Linked DNA regions of Homo sapiens: regions 2, 3, 4 and 5 are each linked to region 1. The links are contacts of gene promoters, found by promoter capture Hi-C in blood cells and fetal thymus (Javierre and others, 2016). All regions are on one chromosome and are shown on one strand. Each heading gives the region's core, a stretch centred on a gene start or on the middle of the fragment in contact. The rest is flanking DNA. Distances are from core to core; before and after follow the strand shown.

The links. Contacts are between HindIII fragments. The CHiCAGO score rates a contact against its expected background, and 5 or more counts as called.
Region 2: a contact is called between a fragment that was not itself captured here and the fragment with the promoter of MDM1 in region 1, in 5 of 17 cell types (megakaryocytes, monocytes, M2 macrophages and 2 more). The highest score is 11.1, in megakaryocytes.
Region 3: a fragment that was not itself captured here is called in contact with the fragment with the promoter of MDM1 in region 1 in 1 of 17 cell types (megakaryocytes); the score reaches 7.0 in megakaryocytes.
Region 4: a fragment that was not itself captured here is called in contact with the fragment with the promoter of MDM1 in region 1 in 2 of 17 cell types (megakaryocytes and monocytes); the score reaches 11.9 in megakaryocytes.
Region 5: a contact is called between a fragment that was not itself captured here and the fragment with the promoter of MDM1 in region 1, in 1 of 17 cell types (megakaryocytes). The highest score is 5.8, in megakaryocytes.

What each region holds. Positions count from the first base shown.
Region 1 is chr12:68,331,005-68,333,651 of GRCh38, forward strand. It overlaps MDM1 (Mdm1 nuclear protein), which reads right to left and starts at 1,358. Exons shown (of 15, transcript NM_001354969.2): 1 at 1,224-1,358; 2 at 103-217. The coding sequence starts at 1,241. LOC105369819 (a long non-coding RNA gene) reads left to right here and starts at 1,627. Exons shown (of 3, transcript XR_945057.3): 1 at 1,627-2,647. RefSeq lists an enhancer at 909-998 and a silencer at 1,299-1,558. The HindIII fragment of the contact is 10,890 bases long and covers 1-2,647 here.
Region 2 is chr12:68,558,695-68,561,341 of GRCh38, forward strand. No RefSeq gene overlaps it. Among named protein-coding and RNA genes, the nearest start is that of RAP1B, 51 kb to the right of the region's middle. The HindIII fragment of the contact is 6,611 bases long and covers 1-2,647 here.
Region 3 is chr12:68,521,446-68,524,092 of GRCh38, forward strand. No RefSeq gene overlaps it. Among named protein-coding and RNA genes, the nearest start is that of LINC02384, 71 kb to the left of the region's middle. The HindIII fragment of the contact is 4,435 bases long and covers 1-2,647 here.
Region 4 is chr12:68,498,611-68,501,257 of GRCh38, forward strand. No RefSeq gene overlaps it. Among named protein-coding and RNA genes, the nearest start is that of LINC02384, 48 kb to the left of the region's middle. The HindIII fragment of the contact is 1,926 bases long and covers 372-2,297 here.
Region 5 is chr12:68,475,866-68,478,512 of GRCh38, forward strand. No RefSeq gene overlaps it. Among named protein-coding and RNA genes, the nearest start is that of LINC02384, 26 kb to the left of the region's middle. The HindIII fragment of the contact is 3,217 bases long and covers 1-2,647 here.

The DNA of each region.
Region 1 (2,647 bases), core at 108-2,607:
TGGTAAACTTAGCCCAAGGTTTACTTAGCCCAAGTTATAACGGCTTGGCCCAAGTTATAAACTTAGCCCAGGTTAGAATGGCTATTAGCCTGCTCAACTTACCTAATTGATCTGATCTAAGTCCAGCCCATGGGTACTTTCGCCCCACGGAGGAATTACAAGACTCGGACAAATAAGACTTTTTCCACAGGAAGTTCCTCTGGTATTCACTCAGCCCCTGTAATGCAAAGTACACTTTTGAGTACAGTCCAATTAATGAATGATGTTTTAAAGCAGACATCGGTGAAAAATAATTTCTGAACCTCCCAAAAGAGACTTAAGACTGAAAATTAAACACAGACGAGCTCCTTAATAAGAGCTAATATTCACCCAGCCCTGTGCTAAGCAGTTCACACGTGTTATATCCTTTAATCCACAACACCACTTGAGGCAGATGCTACCAGGAATTCCAGGCTCAGAGGTTACCCTTTCACTGATTATCTGATTCCAAAGCATGAGTTCTTGTCGGATAACTAATGACAATCTAAATTCTCATCATTCTAGATTTATCGCAGGTTTTCACCGAGTACACAATATTATGTACCATGCCTAGGACCTTTTGCTATTTGATAAAGTCAACAAAAGGCAAACTCCCCTTCCATTCTGAATACACGCCTTTAAGATAAATGAGTCAGGAGATGTGGGACGCTGTGGCCACCTGTGAAGTTGCAGGGTGCTAGTCCCTGACAGCTACCAGCTACCTGGAACTTTTAACATACGCTAAGAATGCACAACGATGAAAAACGTGTATTTCTTTATACGCTGTCTTTACTAAGAACCCATTTCTCAAGCCTTTAAAAGCCACATACACTAAAGTTTTAAAGGTAATGGGGGTTAAATGCTAAGCTAAATGGGCCACAGGTGTCCCAATCTGAAGTCGCCTTTAGTTCTCTTCGCAAAGGGACCTCCTCCCATCTCCACTCCTCTTGAGTCCCCCTAAGTAAATGTGTCTCGCACCATCTGACTCTTCGACACACTGCAGCTTGCAAATGTGAGTGAGCGGAGAGGGAACTAGGTTAAGAGGCGGCGGGCAGATTCTGGGGCCCCTCGAGCAGGCCCTGGGGCTGGCAGCTTCCGCCGGGCAGAGGGCTGCAGCGCAGAAAAGCAGCGTGACCTCGGCGCTCCACACCTCCCCGGCCATGGCTCCCCCCAGCCACATTCCGGCCCGGGGACCCCAGCCTCACCTTGAAGCGCACCGGCATGTCGCCCGGCGCCGGAGCCCCCGCTACTCCGACAGTTAACTGGAGAAAAAGCTCCGAGGGGGCGGGGCGATAACAGTGTTCCCTAGCAAAGCCTCGGCCCGGCGTCCCCGACTACGCGCCGGCGCACTCCGCGCTTCCCGCCTAGAGGCCTGTCGGTCTGTTTTTCCCCGCCCTTTTTGGAGCCTAGGGACCAATAGAGACTCGCAGAGTGCCTTACCTCCATTAGGATTTGACCAATGAGTGGCCGAAAGGGAGCCGCCTACCTCCCTTGCCAAATCCCTGGGGCTGATAGAGATGGCGGGCGGAAGGCCGGCCAATAAGGCTCCCGGAACCGGGCTGGGCGGGACCCCGGGGGTGCCTTCCTGGGTTGGGTGGACCGGTCCCTGGTTCGCCGGGTCCTGCGCAGCAATGCGTCTGCTTGCTGGTGGAATTCGCCAGCCGCCAGCCTCGCTGGCCCAGGTGCTTGACAGCATCAAAGGTCAAAGTGTGTTCTTCATGCTAACATCTATGAGAAAACCGAACGCTTCTTTTTCTGAAAGTGCTCAGATTTATTCTGCTGAATATCGGTTCGTACAAACGACAGCCGCATTACAGTTTATTGTCACATCAAAAGGGAAAGGCCAAAAAAATATATAACTTAGGCAAGATTTTTGAAACTTTATTGAAACTCGAAAGACAAACTGCTGTCTCTTCCTCCAGTGATGTTCTTCCTCCTTCAATCTCTACCTTCCCCAAAATGATGTACATACAGCCCTTAGATGAGAAAACGTTTATTGAAGATGGTTGTCTCAACTTCCAAACCTTCAGCCTTGTCTCTCCGCTCAACCTTTTTTTAAAAATAAAACTTCATCTGATTTTAATCGACTATTGCCATCATCGTCGATAAATGTTTCTTGACAGAATACTGCTGATTCTGAGAATTGGGAAAGAAAGAAATTGTCCAGATAGTTCTCTGATATACTTGGGAAGGACATACATCTTTATTTATTTATTTATTCATTATTTATTCAATAATGGTGTAATGTGACATGTGCTAAATTTCTAAATGAAAGGTGTCAATAATAAGGGCTACAGGATCTGGGAGCAGGGAGTCATTTCGGACGGCAGAAGATGCGTCAGGAGGAAATATTCAGACTGAAAGGACTGCAATAAGTAAAAAGTGGGACGATGAAAGGGCAGATGTCTGAATGGAATGCTGCCAGGCTTCTTCCAGGAACAACAAATGAGTGCCTTTTACATTTGTCATGTGTTGACTGAATAAAAGTATACCACTCTTAAACTTTCAAATATCAACACCAATCCTTGATGCTTCCCTTTAAGCATTTTCCGCAAAAGCTGTCTTCCTGAATCCTGATTGATGTCTTTGTTCTTCATCATCATCGAGATACTTAAAAATCATTTGAAGA
Region 2 (2,647 bases), core at 98-2,597, 230 kb after region 1:
CCCCTCTTTTTTGTCAAAACAACCTATCCTCACATTCCTAGTTCATCTGCTCTCACCATGGGGGTTACCTCCCTTTTCTGTTTTGCATTTTGTCTTTAATAATATATTTATTATGTTCATAGATATATGTTTAATAATATATAATAACCTATATTATATAGGTAATATATAGGTAATATATTATATAGGTAATATATTATATATATGTTATATAATATATAATAACCTATATTATTTATAATAATATAAAATAACCTATATTTTTTAGCTCCTGACAGTTTACAAGCACTATCACAGCCCAGTTCTCACCTGATCCTCCTCATGGTCCCATGAGAGAAGCAGAATGGATATTGTTTTTCTTCATCTTACCTAAAGAAATTGAGGGTCCAAGTGATGAAGGGATTTGCTCAAGGTCATACTGAGAGAGAAAGAGGCAGAGTTCTAGAGCTGAGGATACAACAGGGGGCACCAATGCCTCTGCCGTCAGGGAGCTTTCATTTTAACTACAATACATTTATCAAAAATAAATTAATTATTACATAATAAATCAATGATTTATAATGCCAGGGAGTTATAACTGCTATAGAAAATAACAAAGCCGGATAAGGGGATAAAGAGAAAGTGACTGTATTGAAGTGAATGGGGAGAGTCATTTAGATAGGACATTCAGAGAAAACCTCTTTTGAGCAGTTGAGGAAGTGAGTCATGTGAATATCCATAGACAGGTCATAGCAAGTAGAAGGACCAGCAAGGACAAAGGCCCTGAGGTAGGTGTGTTCTTGGCTTAAAAAATAGCATGTTGAACAGGGTGCCATGACTCATGACTATATTCCCAGCACTTTGGTAGGCTGAGGCAGGAGGATCACTTGACCCCAGGAGTTCAAGACCAGCCTGGGCAACATAGTGAGGCTTTGACTCTACAAAAAAATAAAAATAGCAAATAGAAAAAATTAGCATGCATGGTAATGGGAGGCTGAGATGGGAGGATCATTTGAGCCCATAAGTTCGAGGCTGCAGTGTGCCATGCTCACATCACTGCACTCCAGCCTGGACGGCAGAGCAAGACTCCAACTCAAATAGAAACAAACAAACAAACAAAAGAACAGTATGTCCATTGAGCATTAATTTTACTGATTATGATTAAGTGTTATTTGAAGGAAGCATTCTGTAGTCCAATAACTTTCAGAGCCTCTGGATAAAGCACAGCTTCCAAGCGCGAATAGTCTTAATATATGAATGCACTCTGTGATCTTCTTGAAGGAGCTATAGCGTGCAGCATTGTGCAGTGTTATTCAAGTATGAAAACCTTTTCTCAAGGAGCACCTCAGGGGATTTGTACTGCAAGGAGCACTCTGGAAAATGCTGCACCACACCCTGCTTCTACTGGAAAGAGGAAGTTGGGCTAGGAACTAGAACTTCAGGCACTGCGTAAAGCCAATGGAAGCCACCCTCGGAGACACAAATTGCATCAGGCGGTGGCCAACTCCACTTATCCACAGTGTGAATGTTCAGCCACTCCTGTTTTTTGTCACTATCTGAAACTACTCGTGGCCCCTATTTCCTGTCTGGATCACTGGTGTTTTCCATGACTTAACCCTGGTGAGCTGTTTCCAAGCTCTGCTGACCTTCAGTAGTGTTCTCATTTGGGGAAATGGAAGCAGAAACAGGCACGTATGGCAATCTGCTCAGAGGATGCTCCCCTGCTGACTGGGGGTGGGAACCATAGCGAGGGAAGAGGGGATTTCCATTGCCCTGAATAAAGTGTGGAGCTGGTGGCCTCCCCTGCAGCCTTGAGCAGGAATTCAGCTCAGGCTGTGTCACATGAGCACTGAGCTCCAGGGCCATGGACAAGTCTAGAGGCGATATAGCTGCAGACAGGTGGAGGACACTGCAAGAGGAAGGCTCCCATTTAGCAGGAAAACTGCCAGCTGGGAAGAATGCTGGTGGCTGCCTGAGTTGGGAAGAATTCCCAAGCCCTCTGCAAGCTCAGAAGCCAGGAAATGAATGGGAAGCAGCTGGAGTGGGCCAAGCAAGTCAAGGCAAATGGCCCAGAAGTGAGCAGAAGGGGGCCAGGCCCACCCCCAGGAAACCCAGCAGAGGTCAACTAGGCCTGTGGCACTGGAGGAGGCTAGGAGAGGTGAGCAGCCGGTCTCAAGATTATCACTCTGTGGGCCTGGACAGAATTTTATCAGAAGAGTGCCAAAAGGAGTCATCTGTTGGCTTTAAAAAAAATTAACTGTATAAATAGAGGTTAATTCCAGATGTTGCTTAATCCTAAAATACATAACATTTAAGTGATGGAGTGTAAATACTAAATGAATTATTTCTTTTAGGACTTTCAACGGAATCCTACAAAAGATCTGGCTAAGAGCTTGGCCAAAGACTAACAAATACATCCTGGATAAAATTAAATTTTTGTCCTTGTGATGCCTCATCAGAGGGGTTAAAAACATCAGTTCGGGTCTATGATCTATGCACAATTGAGAACATCTACTGAAAGCAATAAATGCCTAATGCCCCAGGCTAGAATTGGTGAGTATTTTCTCTTCATGTGATGCAATAGATACAATTAACAAAACAAGGCCGGGTGCAGTGGCTCATGCCAGTAATCCCAGCACTTTGGGAGGCTGAGGCAGGAGGATCGCTC
Region 3 (2,647 bases), core at 96-2,595, 190 kb after region 1:
GGCTCTGGAGGTTTTAAAAACAATGACTCATTAAATATTTCCCAGGCAACCGTCTCTCCAATCTTCCCACAAGTCTGAGTTTGTCAGCCTGTTTCAATTTTATCTAAGAAATTAAATCTCGGCTTTAGTTTTTATTAGCACGTTTACTGGTTTGCTGTGCTTTAGAAAACATTTTTAAAGGAAACATGTAAATTATAATGAAGATAAGCCAGAAATGAAAAGCCTCAGATAAAATGGGAATGATTGTTAATGAATGACCATTAACAAAGTTTTCAGGAAATTAGCACAGATGACGTGGCAATCGCTTGTGAAGGAGGCCTTCATAGAACTGCCTTGCTTTTAGTGTGCTAAGAAATTCTGACTCTCATACACTGTTAACAGGAGTATAAAATATCACAGTGTATTGATTTGCCCCTATAGCTACTGAATGAATCATTTTTTAATAAACTGATATGATCTAAAAGATGTTATATATGAGAATTTCTACTAACTGAATGTGTGACCTTACTTAAATCATTTAATCATTTTGACCGATAGTGTCTTCATCTGCACAACAGGGATAAAATTACACTGTCCACTTTGCCTGGGTTGTTGTGAGGATTCTATGAGGAAAAAACATGTGAAAGCCATTATAAACTCTGATGAAATATACAAATATGCACTTGTGTTTTAAACTGCACAGCTCTCCATATGCTTATGCAGTTATGATTTTAGTATCTCTAATTATTTTCAAGGCTGATAGATATGCTACCCGTTAGTGAGTAATGTCCCTTGTCTTCATAGGGACCATTTCGATATCCTCACTTCCTGTGGGCATTGTTGAATGATAATCACTGTACATCACAGCTCTGTAAGGAACAGGCCTATTTCATTCACTGGCACCGCAGTCGGATCCTTTTATTCCTCTAGTACAGACTATACCCTCAGGTACAGTAAAAGACATATATTCAGTTAAAACCATTGCACAGTCTTAAGTGTACAGATAAAGTCCATTCTAACTATGCAAAATAAACTGTTTCTTAAACAAGTTTTCATTAATTTTTACCATAGTCTATCATTTCTATCAAAACTTTGCTTTTAAAATTGGTTCTGGCAAAATTCCCAAATATGCACCCTTCCAAATGTTTACTTATTTGGCATTAAAACTCCTAAAAATGTCCCTAAGTAATTAGAGAAAATGCAAAAGAAATTATCTAAAATGAGGTATTAAAATTATTCCAGGTAATATGGTGACTTGAACATGCATTTCCAGCTGCCCCTCCCATAAGCTCATTGAAATGACCAAGGGAATAAAAATACATATAGATGAACAAACCTACACTGGCAATGGAAACTAGGGCAAAGTGATAAGCACATAGTAGCAACATCAAAGACAGACACTCTGCGGGACATGAAGCAGACTAATCTGAGTTGAAGAAAGGACCCTATGTCCAAAGGCAACATAAGCACAGGAGACCTCAGAGAATCTCAATAATAATCCCTTACCTGTAGGGACAAAGACTTGGAGGTGAGACTTGCAGTCAGGGGCATTCTAGAAGGCAACCACAGAGACTCCAAGAAAAGCATGTGGCACCCAAGAGTATACACAGGGTTTTGCTCTTGACACAGATGTCTGTATTTCTTAACCTAAATTTTTTAACCCAGACACAATAATCACTGCTCTGCTTTGGACATCTTTTACAGCAGAATATATAGATCTACCCCCATTATTTCTAATGTTTAATTTGAATTTTAAACGTTATATATTTGTATAGCTGTACCACATCTGTGTGCATATTTCTAATGTTTAAGTTGCTTTTTTACTGTAGAGCTGTACCACATCTATGTGTATATCACTAGGATATAGTTAACTAGATTCCAAAAAGTATATTCCTCATCTAAAGCACGTGAATTTGTAATTCTGATTAATACTGCCAAATTGCCCACCTAAACTGTCATAGCAATTTATTTCCTACCAACAAAGTAGAAGACACATTCCCTGCTTCTTCTTATAATTTTTATTTAAATTGTATCTATTTATTAGAATTTCTTTAAAACTTTTCTACCAACCTGAGGGCAACAGTGACAGTTCATGTTGTTTTAATTTGCATTACTTTGGTAACTAGTGAAGTTTAGCATCTTCTCACACATTTCTAGGCCACTGTATTTCTTCTTCTATGAATTTTCTACTTTCCTCTTTTTGCCTATTTTTCAGTTGTGTTACTCTATTTTTTTTTTTTTCCCGAGACGGAGTCTTGCTCTGTTGCCCAGGCTGGAGTGCAGTGGCGCAATCTTGGCTCACTGCAGCCTCTGCCTCCCTGGTTCAAGCAATTCTCCTGCCTCAGCCTCCCAAGTAGCTGGGATTACAGACACACACCATGCCTGGCTAATTTTTGTATTTTTAGTAGAGACGGGATTTCCCCATGTTGGCCATGCTGATCTCAAACTTCTGACCTCATGATTCACCCACCTCGCCCTCCCAAAGTGCTGGGATTACAGGCGTGAGCCACTGCACCCAGCCTGGGTGCCTCTATTTTTTAAATGCTTTATATAAACAGGAGAGTAGGTAGGAGAACAAAATGTTGGAGCAAGTCGATCTAGATTTAAATCCCATCTCTGTCACTTAAGTCAACAAGTGAGTTTGGAGGAATTAGTTACCCTCTCTGTG
Region 4 (2,647 bases), core at 85-2,584, 170 kb after region 1:
ATTCTCATCCACATAGCACCTGCTATTCTCTCTTCTTCTGTGGCCTCCATCCTTTGGTTGCCACCATTTCCAGCAGGTGCTGACATCTCCTACCACAGCTGATGCCATGGAGCCCTCAGAGTGGCAAGGTGTCTCGGTATTGTGTTGCATAGTTGGAAAGAAGTTCTCGCTTCCCTTCTTTTTTCTTGGCTTACTCTAGCTTAGGGCAGGAGGTCCAAGGCAGATGTCCTTGGACCCCAGGGATGGACAACGCTGTCAGTGCAAGTTTTACTCACAACCTTCCCATGCTCCCTCTACAGGATGCAGATGTCCCTCCCTGAGCCAGAGACAACCTGAGTGACAGCCCCAAACCCCTTCCCTCCAATGATCGAAGCTTTGTTTTGGGATCCAGCTGCTTCTGCCTAGCTGCCTTGCCCCTCTGGACAAGTCCTCACCCAAGAAGCCCTGGGACTATCACATAGAGACAGCCTGGTATGCCATTTCCCAGATATGGCCAAACTACTATGGACTTCAGAGACACACCTGGCTTGAGATTATAGGATTCTTGATCTTATTCCTACTTGCTTCAGTTATTGATGAAAATAGGCTGAGCCTCATAACAAATGTTGGAGAATGCTTATGTTCACTTTTATTTGGTTAAGAATGAATGAATAAATGGATGAATGAAAGGATACGAGTCCTATTAAAGCTGTAAACTTTCCCCAAGTGAATGTTTGGTAGCAGTGTTCTATCTCTGCGACCACTATGCCCTGTTCACTTTTACGGTTTTAAATATTTTATTCATTTACCTCAAGAATAGTAACAGCTAACATTGATATCACATCTTACAAAGCCTTTTCCATGTATGTTCCTTTATTTCATTTTTAACCTGTGAAACAGGTATTACCATGATCTCCATTTTCTACAGGAGAAAATTAAGCAGACTTCCCCACTTCCCCATTCTCATCCTTTGCTTTTGCTACTAAATTTTACTAATCTTTCAGCCACACCTAAGACATCATTTTCTCCATGAAGACTTACCTAACTATTGGCCTGGAGAAGCAGGTTCTGTTCCCTGCTCCAGTACAGCCAGAGTGTCAGTTAATCAGAGGGGACCTGGCACAGTCAGGGCCTCCCAGACCAATTACCTTAAGATTTGAGCTATCCTATTAATTGTCCCCAATGCTGTGTATGAGTAATAACATTATTATAACCACACATTTTTTCCATGTGTGCCAGAATGTGGAAAAGGCTAAGTAACACCACCGTGAAGGAATGGCTAAGAGCATGGCTTTTAGAGGCACATATTAGCTATATGATCTTCAACAGCTATGAACCTATCTGGGTGTTAGTTTCCTCATCTGGAAAATAAAAATAACAATAGCAAACACTTACACAGCATTTACTACCATGTAGGTTATCTCTTTTACTGTTCACAATAGCATAAGGTAGGAACTATCATTCTTCCCATGATACAGAGAGGAAATAGGCACAACAGTGGTCATGTTTGAACTTGACGTGAATGATATAAGACCTGTAATTAAAGCCCAAGCCCATGTTTGCAACTACTATATTACATGAACAAACCTTCCTCATACGGTTGTTATAAGAGCTAAATTTGATAATCCATGTGTAAGTGATGCTCTTGTCCCAGAATTGTAACCAAAGACCAAAACCACCAGGTACCCCTTCCATGGCCATGCAGGGTTTACTGAGAGGTATCAATTCAGAAAACTCTCCTTACCTCCCACTATCATCCTCCACCACCTCCACTGCCCCAGTCAACATAAAGGCACTGGCATGCCTGCCTCTACATAACCAGAGCAGAGGAAATAGCTTTGAGGAGACAGATGTTGTATTTGTACTGCTGAGGGAGGGGCTATCAGTTCCACTGTCTCCTCTCCTAGTAAGATGGAGTCTGCACTTGTCCATGGTCTCATGAATTGGCTGGCCACAGAAGGTGGCTGGAAATGGGAGCTATATCTCACCATAACTGGCATTGCACAGTGGCAAAGAGGCACTTGTATCAAAGTATTGCAGCATGATACCACTGTGTGGATGAGGGAGGTCGGCGGCAGAGGATGACTAAATTTTACAAGGGATCAGCAGGGCTTAAAGAAACTGCATCGGCATGGGCCTCTCTGTGATAGGATATGTCAAAGCCCCCTCCTGTCCTCACTTATGTCATATGGGAACGATGTTGCTTTCCTTAAGGGATTGTCATGAAAATTAAATGAGATAATGTGCATGAGATTCCGCAAAATGGTCCCACGATTAATGTTAGCTCCTTCACCACACTCTTGCTACCCAGTGTTTAAAGCTTGGGTAAATACTTTGAGTATGAGAAAAGATGGGTAGCTTTTCATAATGTCAGATTCAACCTAAAAAGAAAAATCTCTGTTTGCAGACTTCTATCTCCCTGGATTACTAAGTAGACCTGAAATTTATTAACCTTTTTACTCATTTGTGAGCACCAGCGTAAGAGGACTTTTTTGAATAATCAAGAAACCTCATTCCGGTGGGCAAATAAAAGGAGGCCAGGTGTTTGGGATTAAAAATGCATTATCCCCACCACTGACTTTCTGGGGATGGTGTCAAGTATTTGCTCTCTCATAATATGTACTATTTCTAGAGTAGAAAAGGAGGAGGGAAACATGTACAGAGATGA
Region 5 (2,647 bases), core at 52-2,551, 140 kb after region 1:
AAAAAATAAGAAATTGAAAAATTAGGCCCACACTTGAGTTACATCATGAGTTAAATAATCTTTCTTTTCTTTTTTTTTTTTTTTTTTTGAGACAGAGTCTCTGTCTGTCACCCAGGGTATACTGCAGTGACACTATCTGCACTCACTGCAACCTGCAACCTCTGCCTCCCAGGTTCAAGTGATTCTCATGCTTCAGCCTCCCAAGTAGCTGGGACTATGGATGTACACCATCACACCCAGCTAATTTTTTGTTGTTGTTGTATATTTTTTAGAGGCGGAGTTTTGCCATGTTGGTCAGGCTGGTCTCGAACTCTGGCCTCAAGTGATCCACCCACCTTGACCTCCCAAAGTGCTGGTATTACAGGTGTGAGCCACCGCACCCTGCCGAGTTAAATAATCTCTCTTTGTGTGACTTAGGAAACTTAACACCAATTGCCACTGGAAAAAAAAAAGTATTCTGAAGGCCAAACTGTATTTATATGCATTGTGTAGATGATTCTGTTAATATGCATATCCTGATATAAGTCTGATTTGTGAATTTATAAATGCATGTACTTATAACTTGCATATCTGTGGTATCAAGAGTTGTGGAACTTTGTCTCTATCCCTTGCTTATATTCCCAGGAATATATAATCCCTTTGCTTTCTAGTCAGTTAAGCAAATTTCCCTAACCTGAACTAATTCAACCTAATTTTCTCTTGTGGGAGTAACTGGCCTATCTTCTACAGATTTTTTTTTCTTTTCTTTTCTTTTAATAATAGAGACGAGGTCTCACTATGTTGCCCAGACTGGTCTTGAACTCCTGGGCTCAAGCGATCCTCTAGCTCCAGCCTCCCAAAGTGCTGGTATTATAGGCCTGAGCCACTGCACCTGGCCCAGATTTTTCAATGATAAGAAAAAAGTCTCTTTCTTTATTTGTGCTTTTTCACAATGATCCTGTTCCACTTTGGAAGCAGTTCTCCAATATATACATCAGTATTTACGGTAGCTGCTGCCACACAACCACCAAAACAGCTTTCTAAGAAACTACACTGCTTTACTGGTTCTATCTATTTCCTCAAGTTCTAAATGGTAGGTTGTAGTGCTCCAAGATTCAGTCATGTGATCTCTTTTTTATCTACTTCTCTATTTATCTAGGTGATCTCATTTCACCCCAAGACTTGAAAGATCTCAAATGTAGAACTCCAACCTTGACCTCTACCCTGAACACTTCATACTCATATCTAGCTGCCTATTTGATATCCCTACTTGGACATAAACTTAAAATATATAAAATAGAACTCCTGATTCCCTACCCCCACATACAAACATACACACACACGCATATACACAAAACATGTGCCTCCCACAGTATACCTCAACTGAATAAAAGGTAACTCTGTTCACCCAGTGTGTCCAATTTCTCAGGCTGAAAACTGGGAGTTATCATTGGCTTTTCTCTTTCTCTCTTATCCAGTCTATATCCAGGATCCAACCACATTTTGCCCTTACCTCCATCATCGTCCTGATCCAGGCCACCATCATCTCTCACCTGGATTATTACAACAGCTGTCTAACTGGCCTCCCTGCCTCCACCATGCCTCTCACCACAAAGCAGTCTGAGTAAGTTCTTAAAATATTCAGTTGGATCAGGCCAGTTCTTTGCTCATAATACTATAATGGCTTCCTATTTCACACAGGATAAAACCCAAAGTCCTAGCCATAATTTACAAGACCATACATCATCTGTCTCTCTTTGATCCTGATGCTCTTGCCTTATCTCTTACCTCATCTCCCCGAATCCCTTCCACTCTCACTTTGATCCAAGTACACTGGCATAACCTTAAACATGGCAAGTAGCTTCCCCAAGACCTTTGCTCTTGCTGTTCTCTGCCTGGGCTGTTCTTCCGTGAGATGACCTCTGCTTCGTTCAAATTTCTGCCCAAATGTCACCTTATCAGGAATATATCTAACCATCTTATTTTAAAAAAGCAAGTCCGCTGCCCACTCCTCCTTTATTCCCTTTCTCCAGTTTCATTTTTCTGCATATCCCTTGCCACCTGTCATATACATTTTTGTATTCATCAACTGTCTTTCCATACTTCTCAATACACTCTAAGAAAACAGGGACTTGACGTGTTTTATTTTACCCTATCCACAGCAACTAGAATAGAGATTGGCACAAGTATTTTAAAGCATTCGTTGAATAAATAAATGAATGGATTTTAGAGACCTCAAAACATTATGTTCCCAATGGGCTGGCCACATGGTTGCTGGCTATGCCAGAGGACATTCCGCTGGAATTGCCTTGCTTCAGCCAAAAGAACAAATGATGTCTGTACATCATGTTGAGTATTGAAAATACATCTGGAAACATTATCCTACCCTGGTACCCAACGCTGGAGTGCCTCACCTGGACTACTACATGTAGCGTTAGCTCTTATATCTCAAGAAATATCCAAATAAAAGCAAGTATAAAGATCCAGAAAATGGAGAGGACTGCCAGAATAAAGAGCAGGACATTTCAGGCTGGAGTGACAGAAGATGAAGAATATGATCAAACTCTAGAAAATCAAAATGCTGTGATCAAGCCCAAGGTGAACTTCTATACCAAATCCAGGATCAAAAAAAAAAAAAAAATGGAGAGGAACCCCTTAAAACTTGAAA